2 separate regions of the Homo sapiens genome follow, and region 1 is linked to region 2. The links are contacts of gene promoters, found by promoter capture Hi-C in human tissues and cell types (Jung and others, 2019). All regions are on one chromosome and are shown on one strand. Each heading gives the region's core, a stretch centred on a gene start or on the middle of the fragment in contact. The rest is flanking DNA. Distances are from core to core; before and after follow the strand shown.

Region 1 (3,841 bases), core at 423-2,922, 180 kb before region 2:
CAGACCAGTACCAGTCCTGGGAGTTGGGAACCCCTGGTTTGGAGGAAGCAGAATGATTAGTTTTCACATCAGTCAGCATGAGTATTTCTTTTCTTTAAAAATTAGCACATATGACAGAAATTATCAAGAAAATAGAGGAGGAAAAGCATCAAGGAGTTTGGGTGCAGTTAATGGTATAATTCTCTGGAAGCATTTTTACAGTTTTATTTTGAAGCATATTGAGACAGGCAAAAATTAATGAGTTATAAGGTGGTAAAATGGACAGAGAATAGGACATCTCACTTATTTCCAAATGTTATGTCCCTTTGTCCCTTCTACAGTTTTTCCATTTTTCCTAAAAACCATTTGTGCTTGTTGTCTATTTAAGTTCACCTCAAACAGGAAGAACAGCCACATGTGCAAGAGCCAGTAAAGGACATTCCTTGGAAGGTGGGGGGCAGTTCCTGAGAGCAAAGATGGGTCAGCCAACAAATACTTGAGCATTTCCTATGTGCCAGGCACTGCGGAAAATAGTGGTTTAAAAAAAAAAGGAACAAAAAAACAAGGTTCCTACCCTCTTGGACCTTACAGAGAAATGGTGTTTTTTTTTTTTTGTTTTTTTTTTTTAAATCATAAATAGGCTAGGTATGGTGGCTCACACTTGTAATCCCAACACTTGGGGAGGGTGAGGCAGGATGATTGCTGGAATCCAGGAGTTCAAGACCAGCCTGGGCAACATAGACAAACCCTATCTGTACAGAAAAAATTGTTTTAAATTAAGAATTCTAAATAATAATTGCAAGTAAGCAAAGTGTGTTGTAATGGAGAAGCACCACATACTCATGGTGAGAGCCTATGACCTGGCATTGGGAGGTCTGGTGAGTAAGACTGCCTAAGGAAGTGATGTTGACTGAGACTCCAAGGTGGAGTCAGAGTTAGCCAAGCAAAGAGGATGGAAAGAGCATGCAGAGACCAGGAGGCAGGTGAGAGCATGGTGTGCTCTAGGACCCAGGAGAAGCAAGAACTGCCGCACTAGAGGTCCGAACAACCAGCTAGAGATGCAGGTGCCTCTCAGCCTCCTGTCCCCTGAGTCACAGGGTTATTATGGGTGTTTCTCAGGTTCCTGATTTGAGCAGCTGACTGTGACTCTGGTAATGATACCCAAGAGAAGGTACATGATTTTTTTTTTTTTAACTTTTTACTGTCAAAAATTTCAGACAGTGACAAAGGGTAAAAATAATAGCAAAATGAACCCCCATGTTCTTATCACTCAGCTTCAGCAATTATTGGTCATAGCTGATCTTATTTTATTCCTGCATACCCTTACCTTCTTCCCCACTCCATATAATTTTGAAGCAAATCTTAGCCATTGTATCATTTCATCAGCGAGAATTATAGTGTTTGTCTTATCTACCAGGACTTCTAGCTCTCTGATTTTATGGGACTCTATCGGACAAAGGGACTGAGCTGTAGCACATAGTAGAAAGAAAGTGACTGCAGTTCGTGGCCTTACAGCATTTGTTCTGTGAGCCAGCCCACAGATCCTCAACACTTTGTCCCCTGTGGAGCGTCGAGGATATTTAATGAATCCCTTTTGGACTATTTTTAGAAGGAGAAGATGAGGAAGACGAGGACGATGAGGATGGTGAAGAAGAGGAGTTTGATGAAGAAGATGATGAAGATGAAGATGTAGAAGGGGATGAGGACGACGATGAAGTCAGTGAGGAGGTCAGTGCAGCTGTTTTCTACCCTGCTTCCTATTTGTAATTACAACAAAAGTGGGGGTTTCAAAAAGATGACAAAAGAAAAGAAAAAACACCTTTTGAAGAAATTAGTATACCTGTGAATACATTTACAATATGAATCTGGTTAATTTAGTGTTTGTCTGGCTTTAAATAACTACTAAATAGAATGCCTACTGAACTCAAACTAGTACGGTTCCTGGCTGTGCAAGGTAAGTTCTGGCCCTCTGGGGGAAGGAATGAATTGAGTATTCAGTGTGGTGAGAAAACTGGACATGTTGAGAATTGATGGTATGTCTGTTCCTTCATTGAATTGTAGGGAAGTTTATGTTTACCAAGTCTAAACTTTTTCTTGTATATTCAGTGTAATTCAGTAAATATATATCTGCTATGTTAAAGAGTTGGGAGTACAAAATGAAATGAGATTGTGGTCCTGCCCTGAAAGAGCACAGTCTGGTTTATGAAATACCCAATAATAGAGGATCCCTGAGGAAATAAATGCTATACGAGGGCAGGAGAAAACAGTGTCTTGACTTTGACCCTCAAAGAGGTTTGGGAAACAGGCAGACAACATTAGTTGTTAACAAAACGCATCCTCTTTTGTAGTATAAAAATAAGGCTTGGGGTTTGTGTGATGTCATTAGGTGTATGATTGACATTAAAGTTCTGAAAGAAGCTTTGTATATGAATGGGATATAGAAATTTTTGTCTAAATCTGTTTTGAAATTTGAGATTTTAAGATGTTTTCTTGAATTATCCAGAGTTATATACTAATTAAACATCTAGCAAATGAACTGCTTGCTTCTAAAAAAAATTTTTCTTAGAAAAATTATAAAGCTCGTTAAGGAAAATCAGTGGGTCTTGGTACATCAAAGTAGATAAAAATAACATTACAGTTTCCTGCTTGATTGATATTGTTGCATTTATTTGTACTTCTTAGTTTGGCAGAATTTGTACTATATGCACTTTTCAATTTGGCAGAATTAATTTAATGTTATGCTGTTTGCTATTCTTTAGGAAGAAGAATTTGGACTTGATGAAGAAGATGAAGATGAGGATGAGGATGAAGGTGGGCCTAATGCATGCATTTTGATCATTCTCAGTTAAAAATTAGAGAAAAACATCCATTATTTAGAATATGATACCACTGAGAAGAAAATAAAATACTCTTGGCTCTGGTGGTTTACACATTCACATTCTCGTTTCTATCGTCCCATCAGTGTGTCTGTGCTGGTGCAGGCTCCCTGCTGCTACAGCAGTTATTCCTGTCTCATGGCAAGGGTCCTGTTGGTCTTCAGTCCTCATGGGGTTTTTTTCGGGGTGGTGGTGGTGGTGGTGGTGTTTTGAGACGGAATCTCGCTCTGTTGCCCAGGCTGGAGTGCAGTGGCACGATCTCGGCTCACTGCAAGTTCCGCCTCCTAGGTTCAAGCCATTCTCCTGCCTCAGCCTCCAGAGTAGCTGGGGCTACAGGCGCCTGCCACCACGCCCAGCTAATTGTTTGCATTTTTAGTAGAGACGGGGTTTCACCGTGTTAGCCAGGATGGTCTCAATCTCCTGACCTCGTGGTCCACCCGCCTCAGCCTCCCAAAGTGCCGGGATTACAGGCGTGAGCCACCACACCCGGCCTGTTGTTTTCTTGAGATGGAGTCTTGCTCTGTCGCCCAGTCTGGAGTTCACTGGTGCAATCTAAGCTCACTGCAGCCTCCACCTCCCAGGTTCAAGGGATTCTCTGCCTCAGCCTCCTCAGTAGCTGGGATTACAGGCATGCACCACCACACTTGGCTAATTTTTGTATTTTTAGTAGAGACAGGGTTTTGCCATGTTGGCCAGCCTGGTCTTGAATTCCTGGCTGAATTCAAGTGATCCACCCACCTCGGCCTCCCAAATTACTCGGATTACAGGTGTGAGCCACCATGCCTAGCCTGTTCCCCATGTTTTAAATGTGTTTTTAGGACCAGTCATTTGGTTTACTGTCAAGTGTGAGTTTCTGTGTTTGGAGTTCTTTCATTTTTTAAAAAAAGGCTTTAATAATTGAACCATCATTTTCAGGATATATAAATAGATGTAGCAGTTTCCCAGTTTTGTCAGTGTTAGTCCTTTCCCCACTACAACCAAGACAA
Region 2 (3,808 bases), core at 355-2,854:
CTACCTGTCCAGGGGCCTCCTGCCCTCTTTTGGCTGTTAAGAAAATCCCTGGGTGCAGGGCAGGTCATGAAGGGGACAAGAAAGACCAGGAGGCTGAGAAGTGATTCCTAGAAACTGCTCCCTCAAACAGGGCAGGCATCAGGGAGGTGGAGAAGAGGCCCCATGGGGCAGGAAAGGCCTGCAGAGGGGCTCCGGCTCTCCTCACTCCGGACCTCTCAGACGGTCCCCAGGAGGGGCAGGAAGCTGGGGAGACACATTCCAGTCCTGATGCACAGGTGGGTTCTGAACAAGCCCCAGGAAAGCGGAGGCCCCACAGCCTGCTCCAGGGCAGACACCTCGGCTCCCTCTTCTTGCCTTGGCTCCCTGGGATCTGATGGGAGAAACTGCTGGGCCTGGGGCTGCTGGGTCTGGAGATGAGCATATTTAAGGGACCTGACCACTGCCCCAGGGTGAGGGAGGAAGGGTCAGAGGTTGTTTGTGTGTCCAGAGCAGGACCAGCAGGAGAGGCAGTGACTGGGTAGCAGATTCCAGCTTGGTTTACAACTAGTGAGATTCCTATCACAAGGAGTGTGCAAGGGGGCAGCAAGACCTTCCAGAGGGGATCTTACAGAGGGGCTGGGCCAGATGCCATAGGTCTTCTTTACCTAGGGAGCCTGGGACCACAGTCCCTCAGACCTGTGCTCTGCCCCATCCCTTAATGCCACGCGGACACAGCACCTTGGCACTGTCACCCCTCTGAGGTCCAGGCGTGGCCGCCAGTCACCCCTTGTCACACCAGCTAGTGTGTGTCACACCTTATCACACACTAGCTCTGGGACACAGAGCTAGGCACCAGCACCTGGCCCGGGTGGGGAAGGGGAAGGAGCTATCCTATACCACTCTCTAAATCGAGGTGCCTACGTGGGGCTGGTCCAGGCAGTCGTGCCGCCAGGAGTCCAGCCACCTCCAACCTAGGGCTCCTCCAGCCCCAGACGAGTAAACCCTCTTGGCGGGCCGGCTGATGCCCCACATGCACGCCCAGGCCGGCTTGGCGGGGACCCGGGGATGCCCCCCACCCCACCGTTTCCTGTACCAGGAAGCTGAGGCCCAGCAGGTAACGCAGCCAAGAGGGGGAGGGTCCCGACAAGAGTCCCATGGAGCACCCGGGCCACAGCAGGGGCCTGTCGGGACCGGCTGGCCGCGCCCAGAGTGAGCTTCCCTCACCGCGGGCAGGAGGGGTGGGCGGTGCAGACAGTGCTCATGAGGGCAGCGAGCCGTCGGGAGCCCGGACCTCGAGGCGGCCCCTCCCAACAACCCCGCGAGAAGGGGGCCACCAATGAGCAAGCTATCCTGACGGGGAAACTGAGGCCTGGAGAGGAGCAGTGCTTTGTGCAAGGTCACGCAAAGGGGCTGAAAGCCAGGTCCCCCGCGCTCCGAGCCCCGCATCCCTCCCTCTCCGGGAGCTGCAGCCGCAGCGCGCACGTCCCGCCCGACGCCCCCATCGCGCAGACCGGGAAGGCACGGCCGGCGGCGCAGGGCCGCCCTACCTTGATGACTGCCGCGCAGGTGGCGGTGGCGGCGGCGGCGTCCAGCTCCGGCTCCGCGCTCCTCGCCGCCCGCCGACTCCCGGCGCCCAGAGCCGCCGCCGCCTCCCCCTGCAGCCCGGCGGGCGGGGCCGGAGGGCGGGGCGGGGGCCTGGCCCAAGGTCCGCCCTTTTGCCCGCCCCGCGGGTCCGCCCTGGCCACCCTTTTCCGCCCCCACGACCCCGACCGCGCTCCTGGCTCCCCGGGGCGGGTCTCGGGGCGCGCACACGTGCTGGGAACAGGCGCGCACACGCCGCAGTGATTGGGGCGGGCTGCCGGCCACCAGGCGGAGGCTGGGGACAGGCAGAGCCGCGGGCCCCACGTCGCGCCGTGCCCTCGCTGCGTGGTGTGGGATGAGGAACCTGACCTCCCGGAGCCTCAGTTTCCCCCGTTGTGAAATGGAGACAGTAACCGCGTCGGCCTCTTAAGGCTGTTTGAGCCCTGGATGTGACGATCCCGGCCGGGTACAGTGCGCGCGCCGAGCCCGGCCAGGGAAGCGCTCCTTTCCCCGAGCAGTTACAGCGGTTACCGAGGCTTCCCCGTCCGCAGGGAGGAGAGGAGCCGGGAGCGCCGCTGGGAACCGAGGAGGACGCCCTTCCTTCTCTCGGGACCAGCCGGGGGCGCTGCTGCCAGCCTCGCTGGCTGGAGAGCCCTGAGGACACTAGACAATGGGGAGGCCCTACCTTTGGGTACCACCCCCACCTAACACTACTGAGCCACGCACTCCTCTAAGCGCCTTCTGTGCATTACCTCGCTTCACTGTCACACAGGCCTATGAGGTTGATACCATTACTCACCTATTTAACACAAAAGAGCTGAGGCACAGAGATATTAAGTACCTAGGTTAAGATCACCCGGCTAGTCATGCAACCCCAGGCAGTATGGCTCCCACGGCTACTAAGCTAACAGCCACTCCACTCCACACCACGTCTGTGAAGAGCTCTTGGTTTTGTTCAGTAGAGACGGGTTATCTTGAGGGCCTTGAACTGCTCCGTGGCACATAGTAACCACTCAATATATAGTTGTGGAGTGGATAACAGAGTACACTGTTACTACTTTACATATCTGTATCGTTTCTTCTAAGCTTCTAATAATAGTGGCTTTATTTAGCCACTATTATTACCTCCATTTTACAGATAAGAAAACTGAGGCTTGGAGTGGCAAGGTACTTAGGGAGCTCTTGATTCTCTCCTTAGAATGTGACTCAGCTTCCATAGTCCACTGTACCACCCCCCTGCCCAGAGCTGGACGGGCTCCCTGCCTACCACCCAAAGCCCAGTGTGCACTATGGTCCTGAAAACCCCATCCTACAGCTCTGATTCAGACCTTCTGGAGCTGGATTGCCCAGCAGGTAGACTGAACGCATGCTTCTGGTGTTAGCGTGCAAGAGTTGGGTATCAAGCATATGGATGGCTGGGCGCAGTGGCTCATGCTTGTAATCCCAGCACTTTGGGAGGCCAAGGCAGGTGGATTGCTTGAGCTCAAGAGTTCAAGACCAGCCTGGCCAACATGGTGAAAACCTGTCTCTACTAAAAATACAAAAATTAGCCGGGCGTGGTGGCATGTGCCTATAGTTCCAGCTACTTGGGAAGCTGAGGCAGGATAATCACTTGAACCTAGGAGGTGGAGGTGGCAGTGAGCCGAGATCACATCACTGCACTCCAGCCTGGGCTACAGAGTGGGACTCTGTCTCAAACAAACAAACAAACAAACAAACATATGGATGAAATCAGAACATTGTGGGAATTCTTTATAATCATGGTTTGGTTTTTACTTGAATTACAGCTGGACGGTGGGCACCATGATCTTTCCCAGGCTAAGGCATCTGAATAACTTTGTTGTTGTTGTTTTTGCATGGTTTTGTTCTGTCGCCCAGGCTGGAGTGCAGTGGCACAATCCTAGCTTGCTGCAGCCTCCACCACACAAGCTCAAGCAATCCTCCCACCTCAGCCTCCCGAATGGCTAGAACTACAGGTGCGTGCCACCATGCCCAGCCAATTTTTATATTTTTTGTAGAGATAGGGTTTCGCCACGTTGCTCAGGCTGGTCTCCAACTCCTGGGCTCAAGCAATCTGCCTGCCTTGGCCTCCCAAAGTGCTGGGATTACAGGTGCGTGCCACCACGCCTGGCCTTGAATGTCTTAATTCACTTAGGGCTTGGGCCAGCATCTCTGGTGTGGCTTTCTACCTCTGCCAATGCCACTCGCCTTGCACTCTGACATCTCTGAGCCTTTGCTCTGTCTGCAG

The links. The method cuts DNA at HindIII sites, captures the fragments that hold promoters and counts their contacts. A contact is called where the count stands out against the background at its distance.
Region 1: a contact is called between a fragment that was not itself captured here and the fragment with the promoter of CORO2A in region 2, in 2 of the 25 tissues and cell types used here (aorta and thymus).

The regions. Positions count from the first base shown.
Region 1 is chr9:98,009,683-98,013,523 of GRCh38, forward strand. ANP32B (acidic nuclear phosphoprotein 32 family member B) reads left to right here. Exons shown (of 7, transcript NM_006401.3): 5 at 1,589-1,707; 6 at 2,739-2,790. Among named protein-coding and RNA genes, the nearest start is that of ANP32B, 28 kb to the left of the region's middle. RefSeq lists an enhancer at 1,127-1,196. The HindIII fragment of the contact is 4,064 bases long and covers 1-3,704 here.
Region 2 is chr9:98,191,033-98,194,840 of GRCh38, forward strand. It overlaps CORO2A (coronin 2A), which reads right to left and starts at 1,605. Exons shown (of 12, transcript NM_052820.4): 1 at 1,527-1,605. RefSeq lists an enhancer at 458-1,112 and silencers at 1,265-1,314, 1,385-1,934. The HindIII fragment of the contact is 8,969 bases long and covers 1-3,808 here.